Linked DNA regions of Homo sapiens: region 1 is linked to region 2. Evidence: promoter capture Hi-C in 16 types of primary human blood cells and fetal thymus (Javierre and others, 2016). All regions are on one chromosome and are shown on one strand. The core of a region is centred on a gene start or on the middle of the fragment in contact, and the rest is flanking DNA. Distances in the headings are between cores, read along the strand shown.

Region 1 (5,844 bases), core at 2,415-4,914, 1.3 Mb before region 2:
ACATATTAAGTACAATGCCCTTGCATTCTGGGGTTGAAGAGTACTTAGTTGTGGCATTTTGTTTTAATGCATTGATGAATTCTGTTTTCTAAAGTTCTTTACTATTTAGAGTAATATTTGTAAGAGAGATATTGTTATTGTATTCACTTTTCTGCTTTGTCAGGTTTTAATATCAGTGCCATTATATTCGCTTGTAGAATCAGTTTAAGTGTTCTGTTTCTGTCCTCTAGAGTCTCTTAATAGCATTAGAATTAATTCATCTTTAAAAATTTGAAAGCCCAGCTGTTAAATTTAACTCTTAAATTTTCTTTCATTATTTTTATCATTTTAGAGTTTTCTGTCACTTCTAGGTTAAATATTAGTAACAATATTTTCCTAGAAAATCATCCATTCCAAACAGTTTAAGTGAAATGCACTGAATTTTACAAAGTGCTCTTTTCTGATTCTTTTAAACTGTAGTATATTTCTTTCATATTCTTTCAAATTGTGATATTTTCGTTTTGCTGATATTGGGTCTTGTGCTTGTGCTGTTGTACTTGTGTACAGCTATACAGATTATTTTACTTAAAGACCAGGTAGTAAACATTTTAAGCTTGTAGACATATGATCTCTCCCACAACTATTCATTCAGCCCTCCTGTTGTAGCTCAAGCAGCCTTAGACAATCTGTAACAAATTGATATGGCTGTTTTCCAATAAGTTTTATGTACAAAAACAGGTAGTTGGCACATATTTTGCCAGCTCCTTCTCTAGTCAGTAATGGCCACTGTCTATTTTTGTTTGATTTTTTTCTTTTAAGGTAAGAGTGTTAATTTTTTTTCTCAATTTCACAATCTTTAAATCATTGGTTCTACCAATGATTACCTAACTGGTCTCCCTTATTTCTCTCCTTCTCAGAAATCTTCAGTGGCTTTCCATTTATTTAGAAGAAAAGCCCAAGTCTTTATCCATGGATCACTTCAAACTCATGCGCAAAACATAATTTACTCCTGACCTTCTTAGTACCTAAGTTAAAGGCAATCATTGACTCTCCTCATTCTGTTTACCTTATCGTATATTCAGTGCACCAAGATAAGGATTAGCTTGAAACAATTCTAACTCCTTTTCTTTTATGTCATGTTCATCCCCCTTTCTAGACAGTCATCCAGTCTTGGTTACTTTCTAGCCAACTTTAACCTTGACTTTGTTTGGTTATTTCTGTTTCCCCTGCCTCCATCTTCTGCAGATTGCTGTAGTGGCCGATACCTGCTCTGGTCTTAGCACAACTGTGAAGTTACCTCTCTAAAGAACAAATCTGATACTGCTTAAAAACTTGAATTGGCTCCTTTTCCACCTATGTTCAAGACAATGTAAAGCCTGACCCCAATCCTTTTTTCTAGCTTAATTTTCTTAATTTTTGCCCCACACCCTCTGAACAGAATGCCCTCCAAACACACTGTGTGTGCTCTTTAATAATTCCCAGCTTAGGTACTTATATATCCTGCTGCCTACCTTTCCCCATTTAGCAGTTTATCCCTTGTCCTTCAAGACTCACGTTTCACATTTTCTGTAAAGACTTCTTTGATCAAACTATCAGATCACTGATTCATTCATTCAGGGAATGTGTAGTATCAGTATGAAGAAGGCACCCTGCCAAATGTTAGCGATACAAATGTAAATAAGACATAATTTTGTCATAAATGACAATATCATGTCATAAATAACAAAGTTTCATCTTGGTCCCTGTACCTCTATCATAAACACATTATATTTAATAGAAATCACTTGTATATGAGTCTGTCTTCCTTACCAGTCTGCAAATTATCCAAAGCTCAGATTTTGTCTTAAATTTCTTTGAATTCCTAGGATCTAATATATGATAAATACATGTTTCTTATTGATCTTCTCTTTGATTCTTTACAGTGCTTTTTTTTTGTCTGTTAGTGACTATCATGTTTCATAAATTTGTTAGGAGGTACTCTTCTTAGGAATGTAAATAATTTAGTACAATAACAAATACGAGGTTGCTTAGCACTAAATAGTCTCATGAGGTCAAATTGTACAGCTGTATTATAACACAGGTGGATAAAAACATCATTGCAAATATCCTTCTGTAAAAAACTCGCTCCTTATACTTTTGTGTGCAGTAGAATCACTTGAGGAGCTGATTAGATATGCACATCCAAGAACATGGAAGATGTTTAACATCATTAACTGTTAAGGAAACTTATGTTAAAACCATGGTAAGATACTACCACACACCTGTTACAATTGCTAAAATAAAAAATAATAATTATATAATGTATGGGAAGCTGGCAAGTATGGGAAGCAACTGGAACTGTTATACAATGCTGATGCAAATGCAAAATGTTAAAATTCTCCAGAAATGCTTTGGCATTTTTATAAAAGTAAACATACATTAACCATGTGACCCGTAAGATTCATGCCTGGTATTTACTTTGGAGGAATGAAATCATATTAATATATACAAAAAAGTGTACATGAATGTTTATAAATGTTCTGTTTATAATTGTGAAAACTGGAAACAACCCCCATGTCCTTCAGTGAGAGGTCCGATTAACAGACTGTAATGTGCCCATCTGTAGTACCGTGGAATACTACTCAGCAATAAAAAGGAATGAGATATTGATATATGCAACAACTTAGATGAATCTCAAAGCCATTAATCTGGGTGACAGAAACTAATTTCAAAAGTTTATAAGCTTTCTGACTCAATTTATATAGTGGTCTTGGAGAGACAAAACTATAGGGTTGGAGTACAGATTAGTACAGTGGTAGTAGTTGCGAAGAGTTTAACTATAAAGAAATAGCATGAGGGGGTTTTTTTAAGGTGGAGAAACTCCTCTTGATTATGATGGTAGCTACACAAATCTAACACAAATATGTCTTAAAATTCTTAGATGTGTACACTAAAAGTGGAAAAATAGTTTTGCTTTATGATGATTTTTAAAATCACATGAGGAACATCCCTGGGCCTCATCTCCAGGGATTCCAGTTCATTTTTTTTTCTTCTTTTTTTTTTGTTTTTTGAGACAGAGTCTCACTCTGTCGCCCAGGCTGGAGTTCAGTGATGTGATCTCGGCTCACTGCAGCCTCCACCTCCTGGGTTCAAGTGATTCTCTTGCCTCAGCCTCCCGAGTAACTGGGACTACAGGCACATGCCACCATGCCCGGCTATTTTTTTTTTGTTTGTTTGTTTGTTTTTGTTAGTAGAGACGGAGTTTCACCATGTTAGCCAGGATGGTCTTCATCTCCTGACCTCGTGATCTGCCTGCCTCACCCTTCCAAAGTGCTAGGATTACAGGCATGACCCACTGTGCCCGGCCAGATTCCAGTTCATTTTTGTTGTGAGCTAAGGCAGACCACAGATGGAAAATTCAGATTCAAAGATAGTTAAGAATAAAAAACCCAGACTTACTTTGATTGTTGTCACTTCAAGTCTGTAATGAACCAATAAAAAAAATGCACAGAGTATGCAAGAATAGAAATAGAAGTGACTCCTACCTCCTCCTAGTTCCTCACAGAGACCAGAGAGATATACCAAGTTGGTGGCCACTGACGCTGGTTGAATGTGAAACTGGCCACTGATGCTGGTTGAATGTGAAACCCATGTGATCAAGTGGGAGGTACTATGTCAGTACTCCAAGATCCACCTGCTACTTTATAAGAAACATCTCTATCACAGATACATACTTCCCTTGTTTAACTTCTTACTGTGTCATTGGTGCCACAGCAGTCCTAGCCATGTCTTCCCTCAAATGGGGTTTGACTAAGGAATCTATTTGTAAGAAGGACAGCAGAACATTTCAATGCAGGGAGCCCACAGAAAGCAGACTTAACCTAAAACCAAACAGCAATCCAGCAATATGATTTGAATATCACCTTCAACCAATAGTTTTAGTTTCCTCTGTTGGCTTTGAATATCCACTCTTGAATATTAGAAAAGAAATGAAGTAAGTGAAATGTTTCTCCTCTCCCTACCTTTAGCCTCTGAAGGAGCTCTTAGCAAATACACCACAATTGGACTTTTTTCCATATTCATAAGAGCTGCTTTAAGATTACAGTAACAATATTGCTTGTCTGAAAAGATGAAAGCTGAGGCAATGAGATCCAAGTGTAATTAGTCCTAAAGTATATGTATAAAATAATTTCTAACAGGCTGACTGCACTGCATAAGAATAAAGTAAGAATACACCCCCCTTGAAACTTTAAGAAGCTCTCCTCTTTTGTTATGTTTATATATGTATTTTGTTTTGGACCCTTAAGAGGCTCAAAATGTGTAAGTTGTTATTTACTTGGTTGGCCACTAGATGGTGTGGTTTGTTAATGCATTACTTTTGGTTTTATAATTGAAGCAGATTTCATGGAATACTATTTTCTTAGATAATTTTATTAGTTAAATATTATTAACTTAGAAGTTTAAAATTTTAAGTGACCTGAGAGATAATCAGTATGGCAAAGTCTAGAATGGAACCCCAGTCCCCTGAAATCTTACTCCCTGCCATTATCCAGCCCTTAAGTAAAAAGTGTAGGGAAAAAACTGTTCAAAAAGAAGCTCATGAATTGATAATGAGATTTTGAGACCAATAGCAAATAAACACATGATGTGATGGCCAAACAGAAGCTTTAACTATATAAACATTTCTTTAAATGTTAATCTAAGGTCTTTAATTTTTCTTAAAAATTCTGCCTATTGTATAGTGAATCTTCAGTGAGTCTTTTAAGACCTTCTGCTACAGCACTTACACAGGTGACATATAAGTATACTAAATCTCACCTCTGGGCTCAGATTAGGCCAAAGAACAGAACCAGAAGTAACATTATTACAGTAGTCCCCCCTTATCCATGGGGTATATTTCCAAGATATGAAACCACAGATACTAGTGAACTAACTTGATTGGTGTCAATTAAGTGCGTTTTTGTTTTCGTGTCTTCCACCCACAAATTTAAAGCCTTTTTCATCTTAACTATGTATCACACTGTAGCTGTAACTTGCAATTTGAGGTGCAACAGCAAAACTAACACAAATTTCTGTTTTCTTCTTTGTAATTTCACAACTAGAAGATTTGTTGCTCTTACCATCGATTTTAGCAACCTCAGCATACAATTTCGTTTTTATTCCCTTAAGTTGAAAACTTTCACCTTTTCACATAAAGGAAACACTTTATGGCTTCTCTCTGGCAAATTCAAGTTGCCAGCATCACTAATGTTGTGCTTCAGGGCCATTATTAAGTAAAATAAGGGTGACTTGCAAACACTGTGATACTTAAACAGTCAATCTGATAACCAAGCCTACTACTAAGTGACTAATGGGTGAGAAATGTCTACAGCTTATATATGCTGGACAAAGGGACGATTCATTTTCTGGGCTGGATGGAATAGGACAGTGTGAGATTTCATCATGCTACTCAGAAGAGCATGTAACTTAAAACATGATTTGTTTATTTCTGGAATATTCTACTTAATATTTTTGGACCACAGTTGACCTCAGGTAATGGAAACCACAGAAAGCAAAACTACAGATAAGGAAGGACTCCTCTATACTCAATGCACATCTATAGTTGAGGAGCTAAAACAGATGGTCAATGCTTTGCTATCAAAGATCACCAAGAACACAGCTGTAGGTGAACAAAGCTGGGTTTATTGACTTATCGCAATGAGGAATATCATAGGGGAAGCATCATGGGGATCTCAATAAGAAGGGAGAAGTCCTCAAAGGCAGTGGGTCTGAAGTAAAAGTGTAAAGGCTCTGAAGCAGATATGGACTTGTTGGAAAATATACTCAGAAAAGCCAGCCATTGTGGCTAGTGTGGATGAGGTAAGGGGATGAGATTGATTTCCATAG
Region 2 (6,366 bases), core at 3,570-6,069:
ATATAATTTTGAGCAGTTACACATTTATCTAAAGGAAATAAATCAACTGTGAATAAATGCATGTTTACCAAAATGGCTGTTTACAGTGCATTTAGTTCTGATATTTATAAAGATGACATTTCACAGAATAACTTTAAAATAGTTTGAAATTCTATATAGTTTAGACATCGATCACATCTGGAGACAAAATAAAATGTGCAATATTTTTTATGTAGGCGAGCTAACACAGTGTACCTAATTGCAGAATTATCTGATTAATTTGTAATAGATAAGTTGTATAACATTTTCATATCTTAAAATGTTTTTTAGATCAATCTTGAAGTGAAATATTTTCAAAATAAAATTCTACAGAAAAATTCTGTTGGCTATGATATGCACATTTTTGGGCAAGTTATGAACTAGAGCCAAAAGTAGTATTTGACAGTTTTATTTACTCTGCCGTAATTTGCAAGCTTATCAGTTAAGTCTGTAGTTTTTTTAAAAGCCGTCATGATATTTGTGATTATTAGTACATAAACCAGTGTTATAATTTGATATTTGGGTTTTTCAGACTTTTAGTGGCAGATTTAGAGAATTCTTTATTTTCTTGACATGTGATATAGTATTTATTTACCTTGAGTGGTAAGGTTTTATAAGGTAGGGTTTCCATGATTTAGGATGTGAATGCAAAAACTTACACATAAGTTAATTAGATGTATAATTTGGTTATGAAATCTTTTCTAAAATAATACCACCAGAAAATTAACAGATCAAATTTTTGAGACAATCCTTGGTCTGGATTGGTTAATGAAAATGTCTTGTTTAAGAGGTTCTATTAAAAAATATTTCTAGTGTATTAGTCATAATTGTTTTTGTGGAGTGGGGGTAAACCACACCATTAAGGGAATAAAATGTAATTTGAAAGAGGTGATTATAAGATTTGTTTCAGGCCCCAAAATATAAATAAAAATTGGTGTGGAATCTCGTTAGTGTATATGTTTTCTGCCACTATAAAATTACCTTTTTAGCATCTGTTTCTAGTGGTGTAATACCAAGTAGGTAAATTTCGCAGTCTATTTTTAAGTGTCCTGAGTTTTTTGTTTCCTTAAACACATGAAAGGTAATAGTAAAGAATTTTTTACTGTATTTGGGAATTTTTACATAGGAGTTGTATTAGGTTTCCAGTCTCTGTAGTGTTGCCTTACAGAAATCTTTACATCTAAACTGAGTTTTTCTTCTCCTACATAAATTTAAATGTATTTTGATTTACTGAAGTTTCTAAAATGTACTGAGTACAGACATACACCACATAACGACGTTTCAGTCAATGACGGGCCACATGTACAACAGTGGTCCCATAAGATTATAATGTATTTTTACTGTACCTTTTCTGTGTTTAAATACACAAAACCATGATATTACAGTTGCCTACAGTTTTCAATATAGTATTTGTAGCCTAGGAGCAAAAGGCTATACCATGTAGCCTGGGTGTGTAGTAGTCTATACCATCTAGGTTTATGTAAGTATACTCTGTGATGTTCACATCACAATGAAATCACCTAATGACACATTTCTCACATGTCCCCAAGTTAAGCAACTGCATAGTTGCTGTTTCTTGCTTTTTGAGATGGAGTCTTTCTCTGTTGCCCAGCCTGGAGTGTAGTGGCGCAGTCTCAGCTCACTGCAAACTCTGCCTCCTGGGTTCAAGTGATTCTCTTGCCTCAGCCTCCTGAGTAGCTGGGATTACAGCACCCACCACCACATCTGGCTAATTTTTGTGTTTTTAGTAGAAACGGTTTCACCATGTTGGCCAGCTGGTCTCGAACTCCTGACCTCAGGCGATCCACCCGCCTTGGCCCCCCAAAGTACTGGGATTACAGGCGTGAGCCACCGCTCCCAGCCGATTGCATAAATGGAAGTAGTAGTAGAGTCATTGGATTGAGCTGGCTCTGTTTCTTGATGTGTTTTAGGCAAATCACTAAATCACCATGGGCCTTAACTTCTTCAGCTGTGTAAGGGAGGAATTAGATGAATTTTTTTTTTTTTTTTTTTTGAGATGGAGTCTCGCTCTGTCACCAGGCTGGAGTGCAGTGGTATGATCTTGGCTCTGCAACCTCCGCCTCCCAGGTTCAGACAACTCTCCTGCCTCAGCCACCCAAGTAGCTGGGACTACAGGTGTGCGCCAACATGCCCAGCTAATTTTCGTATTTTTAATAGAGACAGGGTTTCATGTTGGCCAGGATGGTCTTGACCTCGTGATCCGCCTGCCTCGGCCTCCCAACATGCTGGGATTGCAAGTGTATGCCACCGCACCTGGCCAAATTAGATTAGTTCTAAACACATCTAGCTGTTAAGTTTTTCAGTTTTAAGTGGAATTTTGTTGTGTAAAATTTAAAAGAGAAAATGGGCTTTAGCTCTTCAAAAAGCACACATGGGTTATATTTATATCATAAAGGTTTATCAGATACCTATAGAGTTCCTTTAAAGATACCTTGGTTAAATCTGCCACATTCTGATTTTGGTAGAAGTTATGATAGAATTATTCTGAGTTACCAATTTATGTAAAATTTTTAAGTAAATGTGAAAACTTACCAGTTAAACTGAGTGGATGTAGTGGTATATCTCTTTTTTTTTTTTTTTTTTGAGACACAGTCTTGCTCTGTTGCCCAGGCTAGAGTGCAATGGCGTGATCTCAGCTTACTGCAACCTCCACCTCTCTTGTTCAAGCGATTCTCCTGCCTCAACCTCCCAAGTAGCTGGGATTACAGGATTCCATCACCACTCTCAGCTAGTTTTTGTACTTTTTGTAGTAGAGATGGGGTTTCACCATGTTGGCCAGGCTGGTCTTGAACTCCTGACCTCAGGTGATCCGCCCACCTCAGCCTCCCAAGGTGCTGGGATTACAGGTGTCAGCCTCCACGCCCAGCTGTATATCATTTCAAAGCTACAAGGGAGCACTTTACCCTTGGATGAAAAAAAAAATGTTTATAAAGTTGAATTACAAAACAGACATTAAGAGTTTTAGAGCAAAATAAATACGCAGACTTACGGGTGAGACCATAACAATAATAGTCTGGGGAAATATCTCCAACAATGGCCATATACTGCATTACAGCCATTACAACTTTCCAATACCACTTAGGCTTAAGGGTCATTGGGAAAGCCCTTTGTTGATGTTTGTAGCGAGAAATACTATGAGCTAGTTTTGCTTATTTGGGCCAGACCTGTTCTGGGTGTTCAAAAGACATACTTGTCAGCATAAAGCAAATCATTGATTCCCCTTCTTGTTAAAATGTAGTGGAAAGGCTCTGAAGCCCAGTGAAGTGTGGTACCTTCAAAGAAAGTACATATAAAGCTCCTAGAACTTTATTTAATTGTGCTTGCACTTTGCTTTTTCCTTGGATGTGTCACTCCAATAAATACAAGACGTGCTACATTTTCTTTTGTGCAGAGCTTTCTGCCTTCATGTGGAGAGAGGATCATGTATCTAAGGGTAGAGGAGCTCTGAAGAGGACATAGCAACTGAAAAGTGCGACCACCCTTAGGAGGAGGTCAATATTTTAGCTAAGAACCATGAATGAAAGACTATTGCTGTCTGGGTGAGGTGGCTCCCACCTGTAATCCCAGCACTTTGGGAGGCTGAGGCAGGCAGATCACCTGAGGTCAGGAGCTTGAGACCAGCCTGGCCAACATGGTGAAACCCTGACTGAAAATACAAAAATTAAGCCGGGAATGGCAGCATACACCTGTAATCCCAGCTACTTACGAGGCTGAGGCACGAAGAATCACCCGAGCCTGGGGGACGGAGGTTGCAATGAGCTGAGATCCTACCACTGCACTCCAGCCTGAGCAACCGAGTGAGGCTGTCTCAAAAAAAAAAGAAAAAAAAAGATTCCTGAGCGGTAAATTTCGCTAACTGAAAGAACCCTTTACCAATTTGACCCTACCTGTTGAAAATACAGAATAATTTTTTGTCTTCAATGTTGGAGATTCGTCATTGTTCTTACCCAAAGAAAGACTTTGTGCATTTAGACGTAAAATGTTACTGATCACTGTTCCTAGCTCTAAATGAAGTTTGCCTAGACTGAGCCACAGAAGCCTCCTACTACATGATGTATATACCCTGTACAAGATAATAGTCATTTGCAGAAAATAAGTTTTACATTTGGCCTTCTGGCCATCTGATATTTGAGTGCCTTGAAAGGGGAAACAATTCTTCCCTTGAGGAAGAAGTGCTCCCATACTCTTGCATTCTTAGCAGTAGGGTCAATGTCTTACAGGAATATAAAAGTCCTTGAAGAGACATCTGTTAAGTGTGAAATAGAGCTACATGGCAATAAAAGAAGACACAGCACGAAGTAATGGCCTGATTGAGGTCAACTTCGAACATGAGGTTTGAGGTGTCCTATAGCAATAAAGTATCTTCAAAGTTGTTTATGATAGTAAAAACATCTTGCAGTTTAATTCCATGTGCAATTTGCTAAATGAGCGTGAAAGTATAGCCATACATACATAACACTCAACAATACAATCATGAAAGTCGGCTGCAGGCCGGGCGCGGTGGCTCACGCCTGTAATCCCAGCCCTTTGGGAGGCCAAGGCGGGCGGATAACCTGAGGTCAGGAGTTCGAGACCAGCCAACATGGAGAATCGCTTGAACCCGGGCGGCGGAGATTGCAGTGATCCCAGAATCCGAGATGGGGACTGTACTCCAGCCTGGGCAACAGAACAGACTCTGCTAAAAAAAAAAAAAAAAAAAAAAGTCGGCTGCAGACGGCGAAAGTGATCTCGGAACCTTTATGTTGGGGATCTTTTTTCGGGAGGGACCGGAAAAGAGGTGGGATCGTTTGTCGCGATGTGGAGTGGCCGTAAGCTGGGCTCCTCCGGGGGTTGGTTTTTAAGAGTGCTGGGGCCTGGAGGCTGTAATACAAAAGCTGCGCGTCCCTTAATTTCCTCGGCGGGTGAGTGTGTGTGCGGAGGTCCTTCGCATGCAGTCAATTGCGAGCGCTGGCGTCTCTGCGCATGCGCCGGGGGTGGGGCGGTGGGTTGTCTCTGGACCTCGCGAGGGGTCAGCGCGAAACCTAAGGCTTGGTCCTGGCCCCATCTCTCTCCATTGTAAACCTCGCATAGTCCCGTTGGCGGACGCCGGGGAAAAGAGCTCAGGACCAGTGGTCCTGTCTGGAAAAGCGCAGGCCGCGGGTCTCTTGTGGCTGAGCTCCTTGCCCCAGGAGCCGGCGACCCGCTCTGCGTGTGCTGCAGTCTGAAGGTCATGCATCTTTCCTTTGCCGGGGCAGGAATAACTCACGCCTCGTAGTTATGCATAGCTTTGTATCTGTGTTTTGTTTGCACAAAGCTTGCTGTTTTTTTCAGAAAGAATTTAAGGCAGCTGTATTACTTTTTGATTAATAGGTTAATCCAACAGACTGCATTTGCAAATGAGATCAAGAAAATAATGCACTGCTCAGTGCTTGTAGACAGCAGTCTGATTTTCGAACTCTCAGTATTAAGTAGAAACTTAAGCTCATCTTTCACATGGAACTCTTAACAAATACTGTATGCCAGACACTGGTATGAGCACTGGGAATTTAAAAATGAATGACACCGCAAGGATCTCTTTAAAAATGTTAGGATAAACCTAAGATCAGGATATAATGAACAAAAAAATGGGGAATCTAACCGCCCATTAATAAAGGTTATTAGTTGGTACTATCATACAGTGAAAAATAGTACAGCCAATAAAAATGATTTAAATCTATTTGTACCCACATGGAAAAGTAGTAAGATATAGTGTTAAGAAAGTAAAGTTTCATTGTTTCCTGGAAGGAGCCAAAAAAAAAAAAAAGTTACAAATCAGTATGTATAGTGAACTTGGAGTTACAGGTGGAGATATATAGAGAAATTTTGCAGTGATTGCCTGTGGTAGAGTAGGTGATTTTCTATCATTTTATCCTTTATATACTTTTCTTTTTCTGAACTTTTTTTAGTAAACATGTGTCTTTTATAATCAAAAATTTAGAAAAGATATAATAAACCTAGTTCCAATTTTTGAGGGGTGAACATAGAAGGAGCATTTAATCCATATTTGGGATCAAGGAAACTTCTTGAATGGGATATTTAGAGAAATCTTGAAGGAGGTGGCCAGTTTTAGAAGCAGTTGGTCGAGACAGGCAGCTCACTTGAGGTCAAGTGTTCGAGACCAGCCTGGCCAACATGGTGAAACCCTATCTACTAAAAATACAAAATTAGCTGGGCGTGGCGGCAGGCGCCTGTAATCCCAGCTACTCGGGAGGCTGAGGCAGGAGAATCGCTTGAACCTGGGAGGCAGAGGTTGCAGTAAGCCAAGATCACACCATTGCACTCCAGCCTGAGCAACAGAGTGAGACTCTG

The links. Contacts are between HindIII fragments. The CHiCAGO score rates a contact against its expected background, and 5 or more counts as called.
Region 1: a contact is called between a fragment that was not itself captured here and the fragment with the promoter of COQ3 in region 2, in 1 of 17 cell types (activated CD4 T cells). The highest score is 6.3, in activated CD4 T cells.

Annotation. Positions count from the first base shown.
Region 1 is chr6:100,662,924-100,668,767 of GRCh38, reverse strand. All of the region lies in intron 14 of ASCC3 (activating signal cointegrator 1 complex subunit 3), which reads left to right. Among named protein-coding and RNA genes, the nearest start is that of SIM1, 200 kb to the right of the region's middle. The HindIII fragment of the contact is 1,922 bases long and covers 2,704-4,625 here.
Region 2 is chr6:99,392,648-99,399,013 of GRCh38, reverse strand. It overlaps COQ3 (coenzyme Q3, methyltransferase), which reads left to right and starts at 4,819. Exons shown (of 7, transcript NM_017421.4): 1 at 4,819-4,940. The coding sequence starts at 4,835. It overlaps PNISR (PNN interacting serine and arginine rich protein), which reads left to right. Exons shown (of 12, transcript NM_032870.4): 12 at 1-964. RefSeq lists an enhancer at 4,924-5,563. The HindIII fragment of the contact is 4,880 bases long and covers 455-5,334 here.